Linked DNA regions of Homo sapiens: all the other regions are linked to region 3. Evidence: promoter capture Hi-C in human tissues and cell types (Jung and others, 2019). All regions are on one chromosome and are shown on one strand. Each heading gives the region's core, a stretch centred on a gene start or on the middle of the fragment in contact. The rest is flanking DNA. Distances are from core to core; before and after follow the strand shown.

Region 1 (4,927 bases), core at 898-3,397, 580 kb after region 3:
GGTTGCAGTGAGCTGAAATCACCTTACTGCACTACAGCCTGGGTGACAGAGCGAGACTCCGTCTCTAAAGAAAAAAAAAAAGGCCGGGTGCGGTGGCTCACGCCTGTAATCCCAGCACTTTGGGAGGCTGAGGCAGGCAGATCATGAGAGGCAGATCATGAGATCAGGAGTTCGAGACCAGCCTGACCAACATGGTGAAACCCCATCTCTACTAAAAATACAAAAATTAGCCAGGCATGGTGGCACATGCCTGTAATCCCAGCTACTCAAGAGGCTGAGGCAGGAGAATGTCTTGAATCCAGGAGGCAGAGGTTGTAGTGAGCCAAGATTGCATCACTGCATTCCAGCCTGGGTGACAGAGTGGACTCCGTCTCAAAAAAAAAAAAAAGGCCGGGCGCGGTGGCTCACGCCTGTAATCCCAGCACTTTGGGAGGCCGAGGCGGGTGGATCATGAGGTCAGGAGATCGAGACCATCCTGGCTAACAAGGTGAAACCCCGTCTCTACTAAAAATACAAAAAATTAGCCGGGCGCGGTGGCGGGCGCCTGCAGTCCCAGCTACTCGGGAGGCTGAGGCAGGAGAATGGCGTGAACCCGGGAAGCGGAGTTTGCAGTGAGCCGAGATTGCGCCACTGCAGTCCGCAGTCCGGCCTGGGCGACAGAGCGAGACTCCGTCTCAAAAAAAAAAAAAAAAAAAAAAAAAAAAAAAAAAAGAGGTGGGCTGGGTGTGGTGGCTCATGCCTGTAATCCCAGCACTTTGGGAGGCCGAGGCAGGCAGAATGAGGTCAAGAGATCGAGACCATCCTGGCCAACACGGTGAAACCCTGTCTGTACTAAAAATACAAAAATTAGCCGGGCGTGGTGGTACACACCTGTAATCCCAGCTACACGGGAGGCTGAGGCAGGAGAATTGCTTGAATCCAGGAGGTGGAGGTTACAGTGAGCCGAGATTGCAGCACTGCACGCCAGCCTGACAACAGAGCAAGACTCTGTCTCAAAAAAAAAAAAAAAAAAGTAGTGAAAACAGGAAGGAAACTGTTTTTTTGGTAACAACTTATTTGATTATAAATTTTATGTATTATTTATTAATTTGTATTATTATTTTTTAATAGAGACGGTTTCATTATGTTGTCCAGGCTGGGCTCCAGCAATCCTCCCACCTTGGCCTCCCAGAGTGTTGGGATTCTAGGTGTAAGCCACCACACCTGGCCTGACTATAAGTTTATAAAACATATATATTTATATATGGAGATATATTTGTTTATTTATATTTTAATGGCTCTTTAAAAAACAGTTGGTAAAATTCCCCAGAACTTAACAGTATGCTCTTGTGAGCCAGTGTGAACCAGCTTCAGGACACCACTGTATCCATCCATCCATGAATCCATTCTGCCCTTTTAGTTTCTCTCTTCTCTTGTCCCCACCACCACAACCCTTAGGGAGGCCTCAGCTTGTGGTCTAGCATCCTTCTCTGCCTTCTCTGTGCTGACACTAGAGAGATCTTTCATGCTCCTGTTCCAAAGGCATCCCTGCTCCCCATGCTTCCAAGAGAAAGTGAAACATCCCAGCATTCAATACCCTTCCCTTTCTGCCTTCTGCTGATCCTTCCCATCTCATCTCCTACATCCCCTCCATCCATGACACCTCAACTCCTGCGCTCTCGAACTTCCCATGGTCGGTTATATTGTCCACCCCAGAATGCCCTCCTCCCACCATGTTTTCTTTTTTTTTTGAGACAGAGCCTGGCTCTGTCGCCCAGGCTGGAGTGCAGTGGTGTGATCTCGGCTCACTGCAAGCTCTACCTCCCAGGTTCACACCATTCTCCTGCCTCAGCCTTCTGAGTAGCTGGGACTACAGGCGCCTGCCACCACGCCCGGCTAATTTTTTATATTTTTTTTAGTAGAGACGGGGTTTCATCGTGTTAGCCAGGATGGTCTAGATCTCCTGACCTCGTGATCCGCCCGCCTTGGCCTCCCAAAGTGCTGAGATTACAGGCGTGAGCCACCGCGCCTGGCCTTTTTTTTTTTTTTTTTTTTTTGAGATGGAGTCTTGCTCTGTTGCCAGGCTGGAGTGCATGGCGTGATCTCAACTCACTGCAACCTCCCCCTCCCGGGTTCAAGCGATTCTCCTGCCTCAGCCTCCCAAGTAGCTGGGATTACAGGTGCACGCCACTACGCCTGGCTAATTTTTGTGTTTTTAGTAGAGACGGGGTTTCACCATGTTGGCCAGGCTGGTCTTGAACTCCTGGCCTCAAGTGATCTGCCCACCTCAGCTTCCCAAAGTGCTGGGATTACAGGTGTGAGCCACTGCACCTGGCCTCCACCTCCTTCTCTTCCTGCTTTCCTCCAAGGCCCAGGTCAAATGCCATCTTCTCAATGAAAACTTCCCAGATCTTCCTTTTAGGAATAGCTTTCTTCTTCCCCCACACCAGCATAACTCTCCTGGTACCTTTGTTATATTATCAACACCTCCTGCCTGGTATTAGAAGTAGCTGTATGCCTGTCTATCTCCTTCCTAGACTGTGAAGTTCTTTTCAGCAAAATTCAGCAAACAGCTGCTGACCTACTACCTACCATGTGTCAAGCAGTGTGTTAGGCCCTGGTGGATGAAAAGATACTCAGTAAGAACCAAATCCCAGTCCTCAAGAGCTCTCAATCTCATAGAAGAGATAAGAGGTGAACATAAACATTATCCCAATGTTCTATAGTAGTTGAGAGAAGAAAGTGACCTTCCTGGTGGGTGGGGTGGATCAGAGAAGAATTCATGGAAGAGGTGGCATTTGATTAGGGTTACTTGGATAATTATCCCATACTGCTCATTGTCCTCTCTTCTGACCCCCTTAACCACCTGAAATTGCTGCTGGTGCATCCTTGACCCAATTCTGATATTCTTGCTTGATGTTGCCTGCTTGGTGTTGGTTGTCCATATGCCTGGCAGGGCGTGCTGATGCCCAGCTGTGTCCATGCCAGGATTCCAGAGGAGAACCAGCCACCCAGCAAGCAGGTGAAGCCACTCTTCCGCCACTTCCGCCGGATAGACTCCTGTCTGCAGACCCGGGTGGCCTTCCGGGGCTCTGATGAGAGTGAGTGTGGGCATTAGGAGGGGCAGGGTGTCCTGAGTGGCTCAGGGGGACATATCTCTGGGTCTTGAGCACCCTCAGTGGCATCTCCCTGGGTGGTAGAACCAGCCCCTTTCACAGGACCTTCTTCAGAGGCCAGCCTCTGGTGGGGAATAGAGGCACCCTGGAGGAGACTGTGCCAGCTGCTGCCACTCTGCCCTCTGTTGAAAGCCATTTTCCTGTTTCCGTCCAGTCTTCTGCCGTGTATACATGCCTGACCACTCTTATGTGACCATACGCAGCCGCCTTTCAGCATCTGTGCAGGACATTCTGGGCTCTGTGACGGAGAAACTTCAATATTCAGAGGAGCCCGCGGGGCGTGAGGATTCCCTCATCCTGGTAGCTGTGTCCTCCTCTGGAGGTGAGGGTCAGGAAGAACTGGGCTGATGCTCCGAGAGGAGAAACTCACAAGCTCAGGGCTCTGGGGGAGGGGTAGAGACTGAATTCTAGGCCCTTGCTACTCAAAGTATGGTCCCGGGACAAGCCTCATGTGCATCGCCTGGGAACTTGTTAGGATGCAGCATCTTGCTGGGTGCAGTGGTGCAAACCTGCAGTCCCAGCTACTCAGGAGGCTGAGGCAGGAGGATTGCTTGAGCCCAGGAATCCAAGGTAGTACATTATGATTGCACCTGTGAATAGGCACTGCGCCCTATCCTGGGCAACATAACAAGACTCTGTCTCTAAAAGAGATGCAGCATCTGCGACCCCACCCCGACCTGCTGGTCTTGTTCAAATCAGCATTTGGACAGGACCCCCCAGGGGACTCCTATGCCTACTAAAGTTTGGGAGGCACTAGCTGGGCATGGTGGTGTGCACCTGTAATCCCAGCTACTTGGGAGGCTGAGGCAGGAGAATCACTTGAACCGCGGAGGCGGAGGTTGCAGTGCCGAGATCAAGACACTGTGCTCCAGTCTGGGCAACAAGAGCGAAACTCCGTCTCAAAAAAAAAAAAAAAGTTTGGGAGGCACTGGTCTAGGACTCAGGTTCTGATCTGAGTGCTGCCCCTCACTCACCTATGGATTGTATTCTGATCCTTTAACCTCCCTGTGTATGTAAGGATGCCACATTTCACAGGCTAAAGACACAGGATGAGTGGGAAGGCAGAAAGCCAGCAATGTCACTGAAGCTTTGTTTTCCTCTACAGTAGGAAAAAATTTCAGCCTTCCCAGTGTCACAAGGACAACAGAGTAAGAGAAAAGCTGTGAAAGAAAGGGAGTAGAAAAAAAGTTATAAATGCAAAAGAAATAATCATTTGACAAATTCCAGATAAATATGGCATAAACTAGTGATAAGATGAGTTCCATTAGTCTAGAATGTGTCAGTGTGGGGTGAGGAGTTTTTGGATAGGACAGTGTCAGTGTGGGATGTGTGAGGGTGCAGGCGGCAGGGGCCGAGGATGAGCAGCTCTTTCTCCTGCAGAGAAGGTCCTTCTCCAGCCCACTGAGGACTGTGTTTTCACCGCACTGGGCATCAACAGCCACCTGTTTGCCTGTACTCGGGACAGCTATGAGGCTCTGGTAAGAACTTCCCAAGGCCTTGACTGGAATGGAGGGCTGAGGAGGGCTGTGAGCAATCCCTCACCCTGCCACCAGGAGCCCAGCCCCTATGCCCCTGCCTGCCACCAGGTGCCCCTCCCCGAGGAGATCCAGGTCTCCCCTGGAGACACAGAGATCCACCGAGTGGAGCCTGAGGACGTTGCCAACCACCTAACTGCCTTCCACTGGGAGCTGTTCCGATGTGTGCATGAGGTGGGGACCGAGGCTGGTGCTATGCTGGGGGGCTGGAGGGAGAAATGTGCCATTGGGAGACGG
Region 2 (5,022 bases), core at 1,108-3,607, 590 kb before region 3:
CAGCTAATTTTTGTATTTTTAGTAGAGATGGGGTTTCACCATGTTGGCCAGGCTGGTCTCGAACTTCTGACCTCAGGTGATCTGCCTGCCTCAGCCTCCCAAAGTGTTGGGATTACAGGCGTGAGCCACCGCGTCAGGCCAGGAGTTGCTTCTTATGGATGAGCAAGGAAAGTGGTTTCTTGAGATGGAATCTACTCCTGGTGAAGATACTATGAACATTGTTGAAATGGCAACAAAGAATTTACAATATTCCATAAGCTTAGTTAATAAGCAGCAGCAGAGTTTGAGAGGATCAACTCCAATTTTGAAAGAAGTTTTACTGGGGGTAAAATGCTATCAAACAGCAGTGCATGGTACAGAGAAATCTTTTGTGAAAGGAAGAGTCAATCAATGTGACAAACATAACTGTTGTCTTATTGTAAGAAATTGTTATGACCACCCAACCCTTCAGCAACCACTACCCTAATCAGTCAGCAGGCATGACATTGAGGCAAGACCCTCCACCAGCAAAAAGATCATGACTTGCCAGAGGCTCAGATGATTGTCAGCATTTTTTAGGCAATATTTTAAAGTTAAGGTATTGATAGCGGCAGGAGGCAGACAGATCCTAGGCAGACAGGGGTGGGTCCCCAATGAAAGCTGACCTCCAAACCAGACAGTTTAAAGGCTGAAAGCCAAGCTACAAGTCTTGGATAAATCCGTGGACAGATTGAGAACCTCTCTTTCTGTTTGGCACGCTTTCCTCTGATCGATCCCTGCCTTTAACCTATTTTACATATGCCTACTCTTCCCTGTTTTTTTACGCTGTGCCCATCTTTAAGTGGTGCCTTTTTTTTTCAGCCTTTTTGGCATACTCACAAACCAGTCAGCACACACTCTCCCATTCTGAACCCATAAAAATCCTCTTCAGTCCTGGTTCCACTTCCTGTAACTGAAACAATTACCTGCGAGGTATTATTTAACTTTTGGACTATGATGTTTCTAACCTGTGACCATTTCACATAGCCATTCAAATATAAAGGTACGGTAAAGATTATGAAACGGGTTGGGTGCAGTGGCTCATGCCTGTATTCCCAGCACTTTGGGAGGCCGAGGTGGGTGGATCATGAGGTCAGGAGTTCGAGACCAGCCTGAGCAACATGGTGAAACCTCGTCTCTACTAAAAATACAAAAATTAGCCAGGCGTGGTGGTGCGTGCTGTAATCCCAGCTACTCAGGAGGCTAAGGCAGGAGAATTACTTGAACCTGGGAGGCAGAGGTTGCAGTGAGCTAAGATCGTGCCACTGTACTCCAGCCTGGGCAACAGAGCGAGATTCCATCTCAAAAAAAAAAAAATGAAACAGTTACTTGGTATCATTTTGTAAGTAATGAGTTTTTAGTGCTCTTTGGACATTGAGACCATTTCATAAGATTTAGGTTTTGAGAATTTCACAGCATAAAGCCCATCACTGATGCAGCAATGAAGGAAATGTTCTACAACTCAACAGACAGGTGAGAGGAGAAATGTAATTCATATTAGATTTATTTATTTACTGAACTTAGAGCCTGGGGTTACTACTCGACCCCCACTGTTATCTAGTTTAAGTGTTCTTTTCTACTTTAGCACATACACCTAGTTTCTGTGTTTTTTGCCTTTTATAAATACAGAAAAGAGAATAATGTTTTAAAATAAAATCAAGGAAAGGCCTAAGGCACCTGAGAGGGTTTTGTTTTTGTTTTTGTTTTTTTTTTTTTCAGTGAAATGAAGGGAAATTGTTGCCAGCAAGAACTGTGGCAAGGTTATCCAAGGTGACAAATGTCTGTACCACCCAGCAGCTCCGAGTCCTTCTGAAGCATCCTGGTTGTCCAGAAAGACTCCACCGTGACTCATGATACCGGCCAGTCTTCCCGGTAGCACTCAACATTCGAAAATTAGTCTTCATTTCTCCTTCCCAACATGCATTTCTCCTTCTCTTCAGTTGGAGAAAGTAATTTAATTTTTTTTTTTATAGAGTCTCGCTCTGTTGCCCAGGCTGGAGTGCAGTGGCGCAATCTTGGCTCACTGCAAGCTTCGCCTTCTGGGTTCACGCCATTCTCCCGCCTCAGCCTCCTGAGTAGCTGGGACTACAGGTGCCCGCCACCACACCCGGCTAATTTTTTTTTTTTTGTATTTTTAGTAGAGACGGGGTTTCACCGTGTTAGCCAGGATAGTCTCGATCTCTTGACCTCGTGATCCGCCCGCCTCGGCCTCCCAAAGTGCTGGGATTACAGGTGTGAGCCACCGTGCCCAGCCTTACATCACCAATTCTTTCTTATATGTCTATTTTTTAAGTGTAGTATATGATTATATTCATGAAATTCAAATGATACAAATGAAGTCAAATCTATTTGTATTAGAAATTAATAAGAATTAACAGTAAAGTTAATTCTTTATTGATTTGCACACCTATAGTTGCAGCTACTTGGGAGGCTGAGGCAGGAGAATCGCTTGATCCCGGGACGTGGAGGTTGCAGTGAGCCAGGATGGCGCCACTGCACTCCAGCCTGGTGACAGAGCGAGACTCTGTCTCAAAAAACAAAACAAAACAAAAAGAATTGATGATGTAAGAAATCCACAGGAATGTGTAAATTATTTCAAGAATTAACACTCAGTAGATACTTGCATTCCCAAATAAGCTTATAAATGCAGATGAACCTCTAGTTGTTTTAGTTGCTTGTAAAATTCATAGAGGTACGTGTATTTCTTCATTTAACACGGGTTAGTCACTTGGGGAGGGGGATGGGTGTTGGGTTCTTTTTACCTGTTCTTCAGGTCACATACTCAAGCAGGAGCTACTGAATGGGAAGACTGAAACAATTTCTTTTCTTTGCACACTTGGTATTGATAAATGTCAGGTGTATGCAAAATAAAATCTCTGGCAGGTTGTGATATTTATGGGTCTATCTCTTGTGACTGTAGTTTCGTCTCGGCACCAGACATAAGGCAGTTCAATGTCAGGCCATTGCCCTAAACAGTTCCCGATGCCAAGAACTGACAAATTGCTACTTTGGTTTCAATGGATGGTCAAAAGGGATCATCAGGGCAAACCTTGTAGATTTTCTTTCACCAACCCTATTCTCCTTTCAACATTGAAATCCTAGACTTTAGACAGAAATATTGAACTGGGTTGTAGTGAGGAGATATGAGAGGCCTCCTGCCATTGAGGATAAGTGGATATGTCTGAATTGGCCTGCTACCTAGAATTAATAATCTCAATCACTTGGAGGGTGGTATCCATAATTTTCTCCACTATTTGTGCCACCACACCCGGCTATTTTTAGTAGAGATGGGGTTTCACCATGTTGGCCAGGCTGTTCTTGAACTCCTGGCCTCCACCTGCCTCAGCCTCCCAAAGTGCTGGGATTACAGGCATGGGCCACCATGTCCAGCCAACCAAACCTTTTTCTCTTTTTCTTTCCTTTTCTTTCTTTTCTTTTCTTTTTTTTTTTTTTTGAGATGGAGTTTCACTCTTCTTGCTCAGGCGGGAGTGCAGTGGTGTGATCTTGGCTCACTGCAACCTTTGCCTCCCGGGTTACAGCGATTCTCCTGTCTCAGCCTCCTGAGCATCTGGGATTACAGGCATGCACCACCACACCTGGCTAATTTTTGGTATTTTTAGTAGAGACGGGGTTTCACCATGTTGGTCAGGCTGGTCTCGAACTCCTGACCTCAGGTGATCCTGCCGCCTCAGCCTCCCAAAGTGCTGGTATTACAGGCGTGAGCTGCCGCGCAGGCCGTAAGTATGATTCTTATACAATAATCAGCGGCTTTGCTGTGAACCTTGGAAGTGGTCATGCTATTGAATGGCATTGTTTGTATTCCCCATTCACTTCTACAGTGGCACAAATGTTATAGGCTGTGCCTAAAGGAAACCTGATGATTAACAAAGAGTCCCTGAACAGAGTTGCTCCTGCTTCACAGTGCTGAAGGCTTAGAGACTGAGAGATCCTAATTAAGTTACCACAGACCTTTATTTGCTTGTAAGAGACGGCCCTGATTGCTCTCAGCTTTCCAACCTGGGCAGCCCTGCTAGTGAAAGTATTACTTCCTTGGTCATCAACTGTCAAGTCTGAGTAACAACCTTTAAGAACCAAACTGAATGTGTGGGTTGTTTACCTCTCCCTCATACTCGAAGGTATCCCTTGCACACCTTCAAAACCTCTTAGACCAAAAGCCTTATGGCTCTAGTTTGCCTGGAAGGAAGTTGTATTGTCTATAGAGTATGTGTGCCAGTTTCTGCAATAAAATGTTCAAATGTTCTCTCTCTCTGAAACTTTGTTCATTGTATCTGGTGGAATTTTGGTTCTCAGGGAGTAGACACCTGGCCCTTGCTTCTAATGTGAAGTGTCTACCAGCCCAGTGGTCTCTATTCCAGATTTGAACTTACTTTGACCCCCGCCTTATTATGTCTTAGAATTTAATCATATCATTATTATTATTTTTGAGATACAGTTTCACTCTGTCACTCGGGCTGGAGTGCAGTGGCGCGATCTTGACTCACTGAGACCTCCGCCTCCCGGGTTCAAGCAATTCTCATGCTTCAGCCTCCCGAGTAGCTGGGATTATAGGCGTGGGCCACCACGCCTGGCAAATTTTTGTATTATTAGGAGAGATAAGGTTTCACCACGTTGACCAGGCTGGTCTTGAACTCCTGACCTCAGGTGATCCGCCTGCCTCGGCCTCGAAAAGTGCTAGGATTACAGGCGTGAACCACCACGCCTGGCCACCATTTAATCATATTATGATTGAACATTTTCGTTTCCACAGTTTTGTATTTCTTATGTTATTATTCCTTAGTTCCTATCTGTAAGATCATAAAGTCCTTTGAACCAAACACAGTTAATATTTTATACATATGTTAAAAACTGAGGGCTGGGTGTGGTGGCTCACGCCTGTAATCCAAGCACTTTGGGAGGCCGAGGCAGGTGGATCATGAGGTCAGGAGATCGAGACCATCCTAGCTAACACTGTGAAACCCCATCTCTACTAAAAATACAAAAAAT
Region 3 (4,921 bases), core at 1,177-3,676:
CGGTCGTGGTGAAGGTGCATATCGTAAGACAAGAGATTCTCCGAGTGGACGCCCCCGCGCACAGCCGACGAGCCGAAGACTAGCCCGTGGCCCGTGGGCCGCGAACCGGGCAGCGCCGAGTAGTGCATAGAGTAGTGGTAGCTTTTCTCGTGGTCGGGCGAGGAGTCCTGCTTGAGTGAGAAGTTGCCATTGAGACAGAGCGGGGGGCTGAGCGGGCCCTCGTACTCGGAGCTGTTGTAGTCCGGGCTCGCGCCGCCACCGCCTGCCGCCGCATACAGCGTCTCGTAGGCGGCGCAGTAGCCGTGGGTCCGCAGGGCGTGCGCCGCGCCGCCGCCCAGGCCGCCGGCCGCCTGGCACTGTGCGCCCGCCAGGCGCGAGCACGGGTACGGGTAGGGGTGCATGGCGAACGGGCCGCCCGAGCCGTGGAAGCGGCCGGCACCGTCGGCGCCTTGCTCCGTGAGGAAGTTGCGAGAGTTGAGCTGCAGACAGCCGGCCACCAGATTGGTGGTGGGCTGCGACAGACCCTTGCACAGAGTCTGCACGTAGGACACTAGGTCTGGCCGCTTGCCGGAGCGCAGGATCTCCGAGAGCGCCCAGATATAGTTCTTGGCTAGGCGCAGCGTCTCGATCTTGGACAGCTTCTGCGTCTTGGAGTAGCAGGGCACCACCTTGCGCAGGTTGTCCAGGGCTGCGTTCAGGTCGTGCATGCGGTTGCGCTCCCGCGCGTTCGCCTTCTGCCGCCGAAGCTTGGAGCGCTCCAAGCGCGCCTTGGTCATCTTGCGCTTCTTGGGCCCGCGCTTCTTGGGCCGCTCGCCCTCCGCCTCGTCCAGTCCTTCTTCCTCCTCCTCTTCCTCCTCCTCCTCTCCCCCCAGCTCGCCTTCCTCCTTGACCTCGGCCAACGTGGCCTCCGTCCCCTCTTCTCCACGGAGAGGGACTGGCTTGGCCGCCCGGGCTGGCCCCGGAGCCCCTGGCCCGGGCGCAGGCGGTGGCGGTGGCGGCGCGTCGCCCTTGTCGCTCCTCGGCTCGTCGTCTTCGCCGTCGCCCCAGCTGGCGAACTTGGGCACGTCCGAGAGAAGGCCGGGCTCGCTGAACAGGCGGGTCAGCATGGTGCCTGAGGGCGCCCCGCGGGCGGGAAGGGGAGACAGACAGCACAAAGTGAGGGGCGCGCTGGGGTACCGACGCCCCCCCACAACCCTCCTCCACCCCCGAGTCTCGTGCGGGCTCCTGCCTAGGCTACCCTGGATGCCCACCTCCGCCGCCTGCCCCGCCCAGAGCCGGCCCAGCCCTACCCGGCTGCCGGCCTGGGATCTCGGCCCAGGCCCTCTCCCCGGCGCTGGGCCCCGGCTCCGCCCCTCGCTTGAATGGGGGGCTGCTCCCCGCGCCTGCTTCTTCTCAGGGTCAGGGCAGGGACCGGGTGGGGGTTTTAGGGACCAGATATCTTTGCCAGGGGAGGCGGCGCGCTCGCCCTGAAAGCCCGTTCTCTCCTGGCGGTGGAGAGAGGCTGGTCGGCCGCCGGTGGGGACAGCTGCCCCGCTCCGCGCTCTCGCGGCCCGGGCCCCCCGGCCCAGCTCCCTCACCCCTCCCGTGGCTCTCACCCCCACGCTCCCTAATCCAATTTGCAACTTGGCTGCGCGCCGCCCCTTGCTCGGCCCCCACCCCCGCACCCCCAATTCCAGAGGCGGGAGGATCGTCTCCTCTAGCCGATGCGTCCCCAGCTCCCGGAGCCGGCTCTGGGCGGCGAGGACTGAAGCAGCGGGGCGTGGGGAGGAGACTGAGAGAAGCGAGCCCAGTCCGTCCCCTCTGCGGTCAGGGACCCCCTTCCCCCTTCAAGCTGACTCCCTCCCACAAGGCTCTTCAGATCTCGTTGTATTTTGGGATTGATGGGGGAAAAATCCAAATTTGTTTGTTTGCTTCCCTTTTTTCGGTGGTGGGGAAAGGTGGCAGGCTTTTTGGGACAACCATGGAGGGGTCCTCCGTCTCGGCCTCTTCGCATATCCCCCTCCGTGATCCTGCCTTCCCCCCCCACCGAGCCCATCGCAGGCAGAGACACCTCCTCTGCAGCCCCCTGGGCTGCAGCCCCTAAGGGAGAGAGAACCTGGGGCCCCTCCGATGCCCACCCAATGAGGGGGGCATCATCCCAGGAAGGAGGTATTTGAGGACCCTCCTGTCGGCCGAAGCTGCCGCCCCTCCTCCCAACCGGCGGGTCAGATCTCGCTCCCTTTCGGACAACTTACCTCGGAGAGGAGTCAAGGGGAGAGGGGAGGGGAGGGGGGGAGGGGGCAAGAGAGAGAGGGGGGAGAAGAGGGATCTTCTCGCTTATTTCATTGTTCCCCCATCTTCAGGGAGCGGGGGCAGCGGCTCCTCAAGGCGGCGGGCGCCGGCGTCTTCAGAGCGCCATGCGAACCGCGGAGCGAGTGTGGCATCTCTACCAGGCGGGGTACCAGCCTCTATGCCAGGCCATATGGGCTTGGCACGTCACGGGCAGCAGCTATCACATGAGAGACGGTGATTGGCATGCGTCTGCACTGGGGGAGAGCCGGCTCCCCCGGGACCCGCCGCCATCTGTCACTCTCTACTCCAAAAAAAAAAAAAAAAATTAAATAAATAAAGGAAATAAATAAATATTTCTGCCGCCCTCCCCTCCCCGCCCAACGCAGGGAAAGCAGGGATTGAGAGGAAGGTGGGAGGAGTTGCCCCCTGTATATAGAGACCCCCTCACGGGAACAATGGGGTGGCAAGGCTGGACACTGGGGGCTCGTGGTGGCCAATTCTATGCTCCCTCAGGGTCCCGCTCTGTCCATTTCCTCCCCTGCAGGCCCCCAAGGTGGGTCAGGGACCAGACCCCGGGTTGGGGAGAAAGGACCTCTGTGCTTGCCCCCACTCCCCAGGAGGGTCCCCTTGGCCACAAAGGGACAGCTGAGACCCCCTCCCAGGATGGCTGTAAGGGGCGTCCCTGGCCCGAGCCCCATAGGTAGATGTTGGCACCATGCCATCCCTCATCCCTGTCTGCCCCTCCCCCACCCACCCTCACGCACACACAACATATGTGGCTAAACGAAATTCAAACCAAGGGAAAGACAGAGAAAGGGAAAGATGTGCCTGGATGTCTGTGCCTCTGCATGGGCGTGTGTGTGTCTGTGGGGACATGTGTGTATCTGTGGAGTCAGCCGATGGGAGATCTTTCCTTGGTTGTTGGGGGCGTATCCATGTTAGGGTGGAGTGGGGAGGGGCCGCGAGATGAGCCTGTGCACCACCCATCTGGGGGTGGAGGGGAGGGTCTAAGTCTGGATTCCTAACCTAGAAACCTCTCACTCTCCTCCTCCCACTGCCAGACAGGTGACCAGTCCACCAGCGGCTTTCTCTCCTGGTCTTCAGACTTGGTTATTTGAGGGAGGAGGAGCAGGCAGTGCTGAGAACTGCCTAAGTTCCTGGATGAGACTCAAGCATTCTCCTCCCCTTCTGAAAAATCTGAAAATACTGAAGCCAACCCCAGTAATCCCAAGAGTGGCCAAGGGGAGGTAGGTCAGACAGCTGTCTTGATAAGGGAGGTAGGAAGTTGCTGTTTTATCTTGTGGCTCACCTTTCAACACTCTCATTGGGCCAGACACAGATACAAATGGCACAGGTTGAAGAGGTGGCTTTGGACACACACACACACACTCATGCACACACACATACACACACACACGGATGCATACACATGCACACATATACCTGTTCCTCACCCTGTGGTGTAGAAAAATAGATAACATACCCCTACTCAGATAGACACATGTATGTGAGCAGGTAATCACAGCCTGGTGTAGACAGACCCTTGCCCACACCCCATTTGGAGCATTTGTATGTTTTAGACCCACATTTCTGCCCCTCCAGACACTCTAGCTGACATATATACACAACTTCAATTATACTTTCAGCACACACATTTTGATGTCTACCATGTGCCAAGCACTGTGGTGGTACAAAAATGAGCACGGGGAGGCCTTTACCCTCAATCTGGGTGGGCAGGGCTCTCTCCCTCTAGGAGGCTCCCCAGGGACCTTGGGCTGGTAAGACACTGATCTGATGTTGGGTAGGTTGGATTAAGTTCTAAATAGAGACACACATCAGGAGGCCTTGGAGATAGGGGTGCTGGTGCTGCCTGGGACTCTTGAGTCACTTGGCTGGGAGTTGAAAGTAGCCTGAGAATGTACCTCTCCAACTCCTCATCTTACAGAGGCCCATGGAGGGAAACTGACCTGCCTAGGAACACACAGGGGAAACACAGAACTGGGCCTAGAATTCAGGCACTTGACCCACAGACCAGTACTCCACTTATAAGCCCACAATCTGCCTCAGTGGTCTCTAAAAATAAGCCTACCATGCTTCCCTTCATTCACGAATCCTGGGTCTGCAAGGCGAATCCCATCTCTGGCAGATAGTCGTGGTGGGGAGATTCTGGGCATGGCAGAGAAAGAGGCCAAAGGATGGGCTTCAGGTAGGGCAGAGACTCAGGAGTGCTGGCCAGCCTCCACCAAGTTTGGGCACAGCCTCCAAGGCTTTGCAATCCTTTTACTGAAGCAGGGTCCTCAATCCTGACTAGTAGCCTTTTTCCTGGAGTCTCCTGGCTCTGTGATATTTCAATTACATGCCCATGCTCTGGGCTTCTGATTCCTGGCCAACCCCATTACCAACTTAAAAAAATGTTGGTCCCAGCCAGGCATGGTGGCTCACGCCTGTAATCCCAGCACTTTGGGAGGCCGAGGCGGGTGGATCACGAGGTCAGGAGATTGAGATCATCTTGGCTAACACGGTGAAAACCCATCTCTACTAAAAATACAAAAAATTAGCAGGGCATGGTGGCGGGCGCCTGTAGTCCCAGCTACTCGGGAGGCTGAGGCAGGAGAATGGCGTGAACACGGGAGGCGGAGCTTGCAGTGAG

Evidence for each region. The method cuts DNA at HindIII sites, captures the fragments that hold promoters and counts their contacts. A contact is called where the count stands out against the background at its distance.
Region 1: a fragment that was not itself captured here is called in contact with the fragment with the promoter of NEUROD2 in region 3 in 1 of the 25 tissues and cell types used here (lymphoblastoid cells).
Region 2: a fragment that was not itself captured here is called in contact with the fragment with the promoter of NEUROD2 in region 3 in 2 of the 25 tissues and cell types used here (dorsolateral prefrontal cortex and spleen).

What each region holds. Positions count from the first base shown.
Region 1 is chr17:40,185,899-40,190,825 of GRCh38, forward strand. It overlaps RAPGEFL1 (Rap guanine nucleotide exchange factor like 1), which reads left to right. Exons shown (of 15, transcript NM_016339.6): 5 at 2,968-3,080; 6 at 3,310-3,477; 7 at 4,536-4,633; 8 at 4,742-4,864. Among named protein-coding and RNA genes, the nearest start is that of MIR6867, 5.2 kb to the right of the region's middle. The HindIII fragment of the contact is 6,392 bases long and covers 1-4,927 here.
Region 2 is chr17:39,020,456-39,025,477 of GRCh38, forward strand. All of the region lies in intron 1 of LOC105371767 (a long non-coding RNA gene), which reads right to left. Among named protein-coding and RNA genes, the nearest start is that of LINC02079, 4.1 kb to the right of the region's middle. The HindIII fragment of the contact is 5,779 bases long and covers 1-5,022 here.
Region 3 is chr17:39,605,494-39,610,414 of GRCh38, forward strand. It overlaps NEUROD2 (neuronal differentiation 2), which reads right to left and starts at 2,427. Exons shown (of 2, transcript NM_006160.4): 1 at 2,235-2,427; 2 at 1-1,111. The coding sequence starts at 1,106. The HindIII fragment of the contact is 16,482 bases long and covers 1-4,921 here.